Regions from separate parts of the Homo sapiens genome. Here region 1 is linked to region 2. The links are contacts of gene promoters, found by promoter capture Hi-C in blood cells and fetal thymus (Javierre and others, 2016). All regions are on one chromosome and are shown on one strand. Each heading gives the region's core, a stretch centred on a gene start or on the middle of the fragment in contact. The rest is flanking DNA. Distances are from core to core; before and after follow the strand shown. Region 1 overlaps INTS7 (integrator complex subunit 7). Region 2 holds the start of NENF (neudesin neurotrophic factor).

Region 1 (5,401 bases), core at 2,508-5,007, 400 kb before region 2:
TATTTTTAGTAGAGACAGGATTTCACCATGTTGGCCAGGCCAATCTCAAACTCCCAACCTCAGGTGATCCTCCCGCCTCAGCCTCCCAAAGTACTAGGATTCCAGGCGTGAGCCACTGCGCCCAGCCAGCACCTAGATTCTCAAGTTAACTTCTGCCACTTGATAACTTATTTAACTAGCCTGCCCACACTGATTATACTGGAGTTAGAAAACTACTAGGCTGCTGAATTTGGTCCTCAGAATGCTTTTATCTGGCACAATGTTTTTAAAGGTTTCGAACACACTGTCAAGTTTTACAAATCATACTTCACATAAAACCCCAGGATCTCTGGTTTTAGAAAAGTAAAAGATCTAAAATCTTACTGAAGAAGGTAGAAGTGTCTGACCAAAGAAACATAGTAGTACTGCAGAAACATTACAGTACTGCAGGTCCATGTTGAAGGTCAGTGTAGATTCGGCTCCCATTTATGATGATAGCCATGTACCCCACTGTATGACTTTCTGCAGCAATTTTTGACTGCCTTTGGGGATACATGAGTAGAATGGAACCTTGGATGTGAATTTAAAGTACTGGTAAGAAAGTAAATGCAGTTAATAAAATGAAGGACCATGAAATCTAAGCTGAACAAAGAAGTAAAACAGGTACAGAAATGTAGAGAGGTGAAATACCGAGGTCTGAATGAAAATAAAGACTAGCCAAAATAGCAGTTAATCATAATGATAATGATGATACACATGAAGTGCTTATTCTGTGCCAGTCACTTTAAGCACTTTGCATGTATTAAAGTCTCACTAAAAATCACATAAATTAGGTACCATTATTTTCCCCATTTGAAAGGTGAGGAAACAGGCACAGACAAGCTAAGCAATTTGCGTAAGAAACAACAATGCTGACAAATGACAGAGCTGGGATTCAAATTCTGGCAATGTAGCTCCAAAGGCTATAGTGCTAACCACTATGCTAAAATGCATCTCTAGCAAGCAACTAGAAAGAAAGAGATTAAGATTCAAGAATGAGACATTTAAATTAGTGATTAAATGGTGGAATTCTGAGGTGATGAATTCTAGGGAATTAGGGGAATACCATAAATTATGGTAAACTTGGGGTTTGGGATACACATTAATCAAGTTTTCAAAACAGCACAAATCTCCAAGTAGCATCTATCAGCAGTTCTTAGCTGCAAGCAACAGAAGCTAACTCTGGCTTATGAGGCAGAAAATGAGTTTATTAAAAGCTTAAGAAACAATTTTAAGGCTAAATTTCTAGGAACACCTAATACCACACTACCCAACCAACTGGATGGAAGAACCCTGTCTTTGATAGGAAACACCAGATGCAACAATTAGCTCTGCTGTCATCTAGGAATATCGTAGCCATTGTTGTTGCTGCTGTAAGCTAGAAATACTGCTGCTGCCATGGCAGAACTGTGAGTGGACACTTCAACTCTTCCTTCTTGCATCTCTAACTTCTAAATCAGACAGTGTGAAGGAGGTGTGTCTGACTGGCAGAGCCTAAGTCAGATCCTGCACTCTTGCAAGGGAAACTAGGAAATAAGTTTTTGCTTCTACCTTAGTAAGACAAGGTTCATGATATGGGACATTCCTTAAGCATAAAAAGAGTGTTCAAAATATATTAAGCAACCATCAACATAACTAACATCCACTACAAAGAACACCACAAATAAAGCATTACCAAACAAACACAATTTAGGACAATTTGTGACATACATTTGCTTTAGCTAAGAGATGAGGATGATTCAAAATTGAACCATAACACGAACATATCTTAAAATCTATACATTAATAAAAGGTGTGTGGGGGGACATGGGTAGAAACATGAACACAAACATACAACCCACAGCTTAAAAAATTGATGGCAAAGCCCATTTTTATATTTAAAAAGCAGAAATAGAAACAAGTAAAATGACAGTGAAAACTAATGATGCATTAATAAGGCAGCATCCATCCCCCAAATTTCAGAAAATGTCTGTAAACGTACATGGCAAGATGTATGCAACATCATCCAGTATGCACATGAGAATACTAATCTAGAATTCTAAACAAATTTGAGTTTATGGATACCAACTTCTAGGAATATTTAATAACCCACTTTGCAAATTCCAAGACAGTAAATCTTAGTTATATATAAGAATGAGTCTGTGGGTTTCAGTAAAAACTTGAATTTTTGGATTAGTTCATAGCCCATCAAGGAATTACCAACCAGGCTGCTGGTTTTTATGTTGCATTAAGTTGCCCAGAGTCTCACCTTAGCTTCAATTCTACATGATTTTTTGTTTTTTTTTTTTGAGATGGAGTTTCATTCTTGTCGCCCAGGCTGGAGTGCAATGGCATGATCTCAGCTCACTGCAACCTCTGCCTCCTGGGTTCAAGTGACTCTCCTGTCTCAGCCTCCTGAGCAGCTGGGATTACAGGTGCCTGCTACCACCCCCGGCTAATTTTTGTATTTTTAGTACAGATGGGATTTCACCATCTTGGGCAGGCTGGTCTCGAACTCCTGACCTCAGGTGATCCGCCCGCCTCGGCCTCCCAAAGTGCTGGGATGACAGGTGTGAGTCACTGCGCCCGGCCTAATTCTATATGATTTTATAGGTCCGCTTCTCAACACTCTCAGACTAAGTGTGGTCTGGCAGCAGAGATTCTCAGGAGAAAGAATTTGACTCAGTGTGGGTCACATGCCTACTTCTGAATCAATCAGTTATGGTATGGAATTAGTCACCTGGAACAAATCTGGCTGCTGAGGCCTTTCTCTTGAGGAGGGCCTATGAAGATACTTCCCCAAAGGCCTCATATTTGTTTACTGAAACACCAACAACATCTGAGCCATATCGATAATGTAAAAGCAATCTGTGGTCTTTCTTGACAAACTTTCTTGATGGTCTGAGAATTCAGGTATTTTGGAATACAGGTGAGGTGACACCGTCTAAGGGGGAAATTAGAGTGCAGAGACAGTTGTCCTGATTCACATCATTTCTCTATTTCATAACTAAATTTTTCATTAAGCACACCATCAAGGTTTTTCACACAGCATTACATTCACCAGCACCTCTAGTAACAAATCTATCCTCTATATTTCCTCCCTTCCCATTGCATCAGCTGCAAGAAAGGGAATGAGTCACTGCTCTCTTCCCCATTGCTTTCATCTCATCCTTTCCAAGGTCAACATTGCAGAAGGCAGATAGGCTGAATAATATCATTTAAGAGACTCCTCTTTTCCCAGGGGGAAGGAGATCTTGCATAAGTTTTCCCAAATCATCAGGATAACCTTCCATCAGCTGATCTAAAAATGTTTAGACTAAGAAATTATATTAGTGAAAAAGTTACACTAATTTTTGTGAGATGCATCCTTTATATTGCCAATTATGTATAGTAATGATCATATCATGAAATGTGTCAGATAAACATAAGCTGTAATGTATTTGATTATGACACTTAACTCTGCTTGTGTATGCTCAGTCTTACAGAAGCTCAAGCAGCATGGCCATCAGCCTACAACTTTCAATGCCTTCCCATTGCACTCTGCACAAAATCCAACTTCTTGTCCTGACTAACGGCACCACATTTGATCTAGCATTGTCCATCTCCTTACATTTGTATGCAATCTCCTTAAAGATGTCTTGTTTGCCAACATAGCCCCTAGTCTGAGTATAGAGCCTGAGACAATGCAGGTGGTCAGTAAATATCTGTTGAGTAAATGAATGGCTATCACATGAAGGATGATTTTCCTGTTACTAACTACATCCTAAAGTAATGGAATTGAGTCAGCTTCAAAATAGTATTCACTTATTCCTATAGAGATCAGAAACAATCAGCTTACTGCCAATGCTTGCTCAAAAGGCTCAGAATAAAGTACAACAGTTATAAATATATAACAGGTTATGAATGGCAGCATTTCCTGAGTGTGTTTCTAAGGACACCAGTGCCACAAAATATTTCTTTAAAATAGCGTTCAAAGGTTACATCTTATGCCTAACTGACTAATCATCTCCATTTGGATGTCTAAGAGACATCTCAAATTTAACATGACCCAAACTGATTTGATTTCAGTAAACAATACATACATCCTCCCAGTAGCTCATACCAAAAACCTCTAAGTTTTCTTGACCACTTACTCTTATATCCTCATCTAATCCATTAGCAAATCTTCTTGGCTCTACTTTGAAAGTATATCCAGAATCTCAGCACTTCACACATTTTCAGTGTCACCATCTCGGTCTAAGCCACTATTTTCTTTTCCCTGGATTGTTATAGTTGCCTTCTCATTGGTCTCCCTACTTGGGTCCCTGACCCTCCCCACTTCAGTCTATTCTCAGCACAGTAGCCAGACTGATACTTTTCAAAGGAAAGTCAGATCATGTCACACACCTGCTGAAAATCCTCCATGGTTTCCTTTCTCACTCAGAATGAAAGCCAGTCCTTTTGATGGCTTGCACGGCCCTACCTGAACGGGACTCTGGTTATCTTTCTTTTTTTTTTTTCGAGACAGTCTTGCTCTGTTGCCCAGACTGGAGTGCAGTGGTGTGATCTCGGCTCACTGGAAGCCCCGCCTCCCAGGTTCACGCCATTCTCCTGCCTCAGCCTCCCAAGTAGCTGGAACTACAGGTGCCCACCACCACGCCTGGCTAATTTTTTGTATTTTGTTTAGTAGAGACAGGGTTTCACCATGTTAGCCAGGATGGTCTCGATCTCCTGACTTCGTGATCCGCCCGCCTCAGCTTCCCAAAGTGCGGGGATTACAGGCGTGAACCACCACGCCCGACTGACTCTGGTTATCTTTCTATACTCATTGCCTATTACTTTGCTCCAGATAACTGCATGCAAAGGAGGCTTCTACCTCAGGGCCTTTGTACTTGCTGTTCTTCCACTTGATTGAGGAGGTCTTTCTTGCCTATACTTCATAAAATAAGAAATCAACTCCAGCCCCAGATCAGTTTTCTCCAGTCCCTTTCATTGCTTCATTTTCCTTTATAATATGTATCACTAACTGTCACGTTTGCTATATTTGCGGAGTGTCTGCATCTGCTGTCTAGAATGTAAGCTCTATAGGGGCAGGAGTTTTGTCTCATTAACTGCCATGTTCCTAGTACAAAGCCCGATCAAATAAGTCATGTGTCTGAGTGTGTATGCTGAGGTGGGGGAGATATTTCAGAAACAGTATTCCTTGGAGTTTGGGAACGAAAAAAAGAGTTGGAACTTGTAGCCTTCTGACCTTTAGCTCACAAAACAGAAATACTTTAACAGGTACAAGATGAAATGACTCAATATTTAAAATACTCAACTATATTCTACACGAAACTGGCTATTTCTATAACTTAATTTCCTAACAGCTTTAAAAGTTACTACAGATGAGATGAAAAAGAACAAGTCATCTTTCTGAGCCTGA
Region 2 (5,197 bases), core at 2,648-5,147:
CAAGGAATAAGCAGCTGGGTTCATTTATCTCGAATTAAACCCATTTCTTATGAAGTCCCACAGGCTGAGACTGATCTCACTTATCCCTGTGTACCAACCACTGATCTCTGGCGCCTGCTCAGAAGAAACAAGAAGGATGAATAACTTAAAGATTTGGATTAACATCTTAATTCTGCGCATGTATTGGAACCAGCTAAGAAGCAATCTCTTTGCCAAATGGGCACAGACTTTAGCCTCCCTACACAACAACACTAATTGCTGAGTATGCACGGAACTAATGCCTCCTCCACCTCAGGCTGCCCTGGCACATCCTGCCAGCCACTATGAGCATATGGGGAAATTATTATGATTGGGGTAAATGGACCACCCTTTTTCCCTTCTACTACAGAAACACAGGGCCCAGCCCTTTCCCTTCCCACCGTGAAACAAAGAAGCCTCTTTTTTGTTTGATCAGAAAATTAAACTCCACTCTGACGTAAGGTTATACTGTACACGATGAATGGATGACAGCTGTCTAAGTTCAGGTATTAGGCAGAGTGCCCCTATGCTTTGAAAGACAATAGCAGTGATTACTACACTGAAACCTGTAACATGGAATGGTTACTACCCCAACACTATAATTGCACCCTTCTTGTAACTAGCCAAACGTGGATGGGATGGCAAAATGAGTCTTTATGGCTAGGTGCTTGTACTTCTCCTTGGGGTTGATTATGGGCATGTGGGTCACATGGCTGGCCATATGTGCCTTATAATTGGACTGGAAGATGTACATAGGGTCATCTTCATCTCCCAGGATGTATCCTCACTAAATTATAATCTCTCCCATCTAACTGGGAAACTGTAAAAGCTCGTCATAAGTGACAAAAGCAGTCTTCTTGGTTGTTTTACCCATTGGCTATCTGTCACATGTGTCCGTATAGAAGACCACCTAAACAGGCTTTGTGTGAGCAACAGGGCTGTTTATTCACTTGGGTGCAAGTGGGCTGAGTACGAAAAGAGAGTCAGCGAAGGTAGATAGGAGAGGGGCAGCTTTATAGGACTGAGGTAGGCAGTGGAATGTTACAGTTAGAGGTGGTTATCTATTGTCAGCAGAGGAGGGGGTCACAGGGTCCATGGTGGGGAGATCATAAGATTCATTGTCCAGAAGAAGAATGTCACAAGGTCGATTGATCAGTTGGGGCAGGACAGGAACAATTCATAATGGTGGAACGTCGTAAGGCTGGTCAATCAGTCAAGGCAGGAGCTTCTTTTGTTGCACTTCTTTTGTGTTTTTTTGGCTGCTCCAGACTTCTTGGCTCCTGCAGGCCATCTGGACTTATAGGTGCAGGTCACAAGGGTTACAATGGCTGAGCTTCAGCTCAGAGGCCTGACACTGTCTTCTCCCCACAGGCAGCCACAATTGACATTGAGCTTCAAGCCAAAGCCATAGCTAAACACAGCTGCAGTTTTCAATAATACACGCCATGCCCTTACCCTCTTGACTGAAGAAACATCTCAAATTAGACAGATAGCCTTATGAAACTATGGCTCTGGACATGTTAACAGCAGCTCAAAGGGGGAACTTATGCTATAATCAAAACAGAATGTTATGCATACATTCCAGACTATTCACATAATGTTACTCAGGCCACAAAAGACTTAGACACCCACATCTCTGCCATTGACACGCTGTCAGTTGACCCCATATCAGCTTGGTTCTAACAACTGCCTAGTCCTTGGGAAACTTTTTTTGTTTAGCATGCTTGGGATAATTCTATTCATTCTGTTTTGTGCTGTGGAATATACTGCATTGTACTTTTTATGTAGGAATAAGAGTTAAGCTTATTCAATGCTTCTTTAAATTTAACACGTTAATTTTCTAGATTTCACCTTTTTCTGGGACTTAGAATTATGTATGATTGGTCCTCACTATACAGATGCTTTCTGACTGGCTAGCTCTCTACTTTGGGCAAAGGGATCCTAATGGTTAGGCAGGAATATCATCGCTTCTGTTCAGCTTGAAGTTACTGAAGATGGATCTCTGTCCCCCTGCACCCCTTAGGATTAAAGGTCTCCTTGTAAAAAGGAGGAGGGAATTATGTCAGAAGTGTCCTAACCAGAGTGATTCCATCTTGAATAAAGGTCAGATAAAGCCAAACCTGCTGGGCGACTTTCCCAGGAAGATAGGCACTCTTCACAAGATGTTTATGGTTGAGGAAATGAGATAATGGAAAAAGGCATTCTTAGTTTAAAAATGAGTTTCACTTTAAAGATAACAGTACACCCATAAATTCTCCCTGAAGTCAATAGTTACACAAGAGAATAACAATACTAATAGTCTGTAACAAGCTGATCATAGGCTTTTGTAATGAAGTACGCTAGTTTTAGCCCTATAAAAGCAAGCATTACATTGAAGGCAGAGGTGCTCCTATATAAACAATACTTGCTTAGTACTACTTCAAAGCAAGGATACTACTCAGAAACACAGTAGTACTATTATTAGAAATGGAGTAGTTTCTAATGAACTATTTTAACTACTATGCTCTGCGACTTGCCCTGATTCTTTGCCGTGGACGTCTAAGAACCTGCTCTTGGGTCTGGAATGAGACCCTTTTTCTGTTAATTCCTCTATTCCAGTCTTGAAAGTAAAAGCCAGTCTTGAAAATAACCTGTGAAGCCCCCAAGATCCACCCCCACTCCCTTACCCGCTTCCTTCCTGACTTCACCTACCCCTCTTACCTTCCCTTGATCCTCCAGCAAGCCGGGCATCCTCATTCCTCCGCATTTATGCACCTGATCCTTTGACCAAAGTGCTCTTCCCTCTAGACCGCCTCCTTCGCCTCCTGTAGATTTTTATGCAAATACCCTGTTCTCAGTGAGGCCTTCCCTAACCTGCCTATTTAAAATGACCATCCCCATAACCGGGCACCGTTCCTCACACCTGTAATCCCAGCACTTTGGGTGGATGAGGTGGATGGTTCACTTGAGGCCAGGAGTTCGAGACCAGCCTGGCCAGCATATAGTGAAACCTCATCTCGACTAAAAATTAAAAAAAAAAAAAATTAGCCAGGCGTGGTGGTGGGTGCCTGTAATCCCAACTACTCTGGTGGCTGAGGCAGGAGAATCACTTGAACCCGGAAGGTGGAGGTTGCAGTGGGCCGAGATGGCGCCACTGCACTCCAGCGTAGGCGACAGACTCCGTCTCAAAAATAAATAAATACATAACAATAAAATAAAATAAAATGTCCATCCCAGTGCTCCCTATCTCTTTGCCCTACTTTTTCTCCCTAGTATTTACCACCATCTAACATACTACTTAGCATCTTATTGTCTATCTGCCCACACAATGTAAGCTTCACGTGGGCGTGGATCTGTCTTGTTCAGTGGTGAGTCCCCAGTGACCTGGTACATGGAGGTACTCAAAAATATTTGTTGCATAAAGTAATGAGCAAAGTTTGGCACAAATGTTAGCTATTATTATTTCAGGGCGTATCGGTAACAGCACCCTACCCTTTGCAAAAATCTCCTTGGGAACCAGAAACTTAAACACAACCAGGAAGAAAAAAAATCAGCCAAAAATAAAAGCGAATTAAGACAGTTGGGGTCTTATTTTAGAAATATACCTTTCTAGGTTCTGGTATGTTGGGCTCTGTCATCTTTCTACCTGATCAAGGAACCACTGTGACATTTTTTGGTAACTTCCAGTCTGTAGTTTGGATTTAGGAGTTCAGGATTCCAATCCTAATTTCCAGGTTCCAGCTGCGTGGCCCGAGTAGCCCGGCCAGCCCCACCCCGGGGCGCAGGAGGCGCGCGAAGGGCGGGAGTTCTCGGGTCCCCGCCCTCGGGGAGGCTCTGGGCGCGGGGCGGGACTCCGGGACGCTGGGCGGGCGTGCTAGGGCCCCGCCGCCCTGGCCCGGCCTTGCCTTGCGCTGCGCGCTCACCATGGTGGGCCCCGCGCCGCGGCGGCGGCTGCGGCCGCTGGCAGCGCTGGCCCTGGTCCTGGCGCTGGCCCCGGGGCTGCCCACAGCCCGGGCCGGGCAGACACCGCGCCCTGCCGAGCGGGGGCCCCCAGTGCGGCTTTTCACCGAGGAGGAGCTGGCCCGCTATGGCGGGGAGGAGGTAGGCGGGGGTGTCGCGGGCCGAGGGACCCGGGGTGGCGTCCGATCTGCGGCGAGCCGAGCGGGGACCCAGGAGGCGCCGGCGGCCCAGGAAGCTCTGGGGGACGCGCGGCCCGCGGCGGGCGCCCTGGGCCGGCGGGGGGCCTCCTCTCTCTAGGCCCCGAAGGATGGCCGAGGGGTGAGGACGAGTCCTCAACAGTCGGAGCGCTCCGCTTTGCCCGCACACCCCACCCTGAACTTCTCCCTCGGTCCCCGGGAGATTTCCCCTCTAGCCGCCTTTTCGTTGATGATCTGCGTACAGACCTCAGAACTTTTTGGTTTTCATGTTAGCATCAGCCGAGGCGTTTACTGTGCCCACGCATAGTGGGGAGTGGCGGGGGACGGAGGGAGGGAAGCAGAGCCTGCTCCCTGGGTTAGGTGGGAATTGAGACAGGTCCTGGGATAAGCCAGTCTTTGCCTGCACTTCCTTTTCCTGCCCCTGTATCCCAGGCCTCTGCATCGGACTCCTCAAACCCACTTTTAGGTCATGTACCCCTGGGGCTCAGCCAAAGCTGGAAGTGAGCGCAGAGGGTGGACTGGAGGTTAGAGACCCCCACAACCCCCCCGCCACACGTCAATAGAGACCCCCCCGCCCACACACACCCACACACGTCAATAGTCTAGAGGCGTCCAGAAAACTCACAACCACCTGCCCACCTGGGTTGGTTGGGACTGGAGCCGCACGACAAGGACCAACAGGGGGCTGATATTAGATGTGGAGCGGGGGAACGGCATTGGGGGGAGGTCATAGTACCATAGTATTTCAGAGCTGGCAGGAACCCATCTCCTGCTTTTACACATAAGGAAACTGAGGCCTGCCACCTGTTAGTGGTAGAGCAGGAAGAGGCCTGATGTTTTTCAAAACCCTCTGGCCTGGTCTCGCTAATTCCTGAGTTAATTGGCCTTATATGGACTAGGATTGCATGGGGGTATCAGAAACCTGGCCCTTAGTCAGTGATGCCAGTTTGGGCATCATTTGTGAAGGGGCCATTTAGAACCATGAGTCAGTGAGGACACCGAGGGAGGGAGACATGGCTGGGATGTGAGGATGTTAAGGGATG

What was found. The method cuts DNA at HindIII sites, captures the fragments that hold promoters and counts their contacts. A CHiCAGO score of 5 or more calls a contact.
Region 1: a fragment that was not itself captured here is called in contact with the fragment with the promoter of NENF in region 2 in 7 of 17 cell types (non-activated CD4 T cells, naive CD4 T cells, fetal thymus and 4 more); the score reaches 9.3 in non-activated CD4 T cells.

What each region holds. Positions count from the first base shown.
Region 1 is chr1:212,028,000-212,033,400 of GRCh38, forward strand. The region is part of intron 1 of INTS7 (integrator complex subunit 7); the gene reads right to left. Among named protein-coding and RNA genes, the nearest start is that of INTS7, 4.9 kb to the right of the region's middle. RefSeq lists an enhancer at 2,802-2,851. The HindIII fragment of the contact is 5,049 bases long and covers 1,234-5,401 here.
Region 2 is chr1:212,429,023-212,434,219 of GRCh38, forward strand. NENF (neudesin neurotrophic factor) reads left to right here and starts at 3,898. Exons shown (of 4, transcript NM_013349.5): 1 at 3,898-4,098. The coding sequence starts at 3,922. It overlaps LOC105372906 (a long non-coding RNA gene), which reads right to left and starts at 3,795. Exons shown (of 3, transcript XR_922577.4): 1 at 3,603-3,795; 2 at 2,719-2,822; 3 at 939-1,309. RefSeq lists a cis regulatory region at 1,973-2,260, a silencer at 3,684-4,243 and an enhancer at 4,404-4,493. The HindIII fragment of the contact is 20,197 bases long and covers 3,331-5,197 here.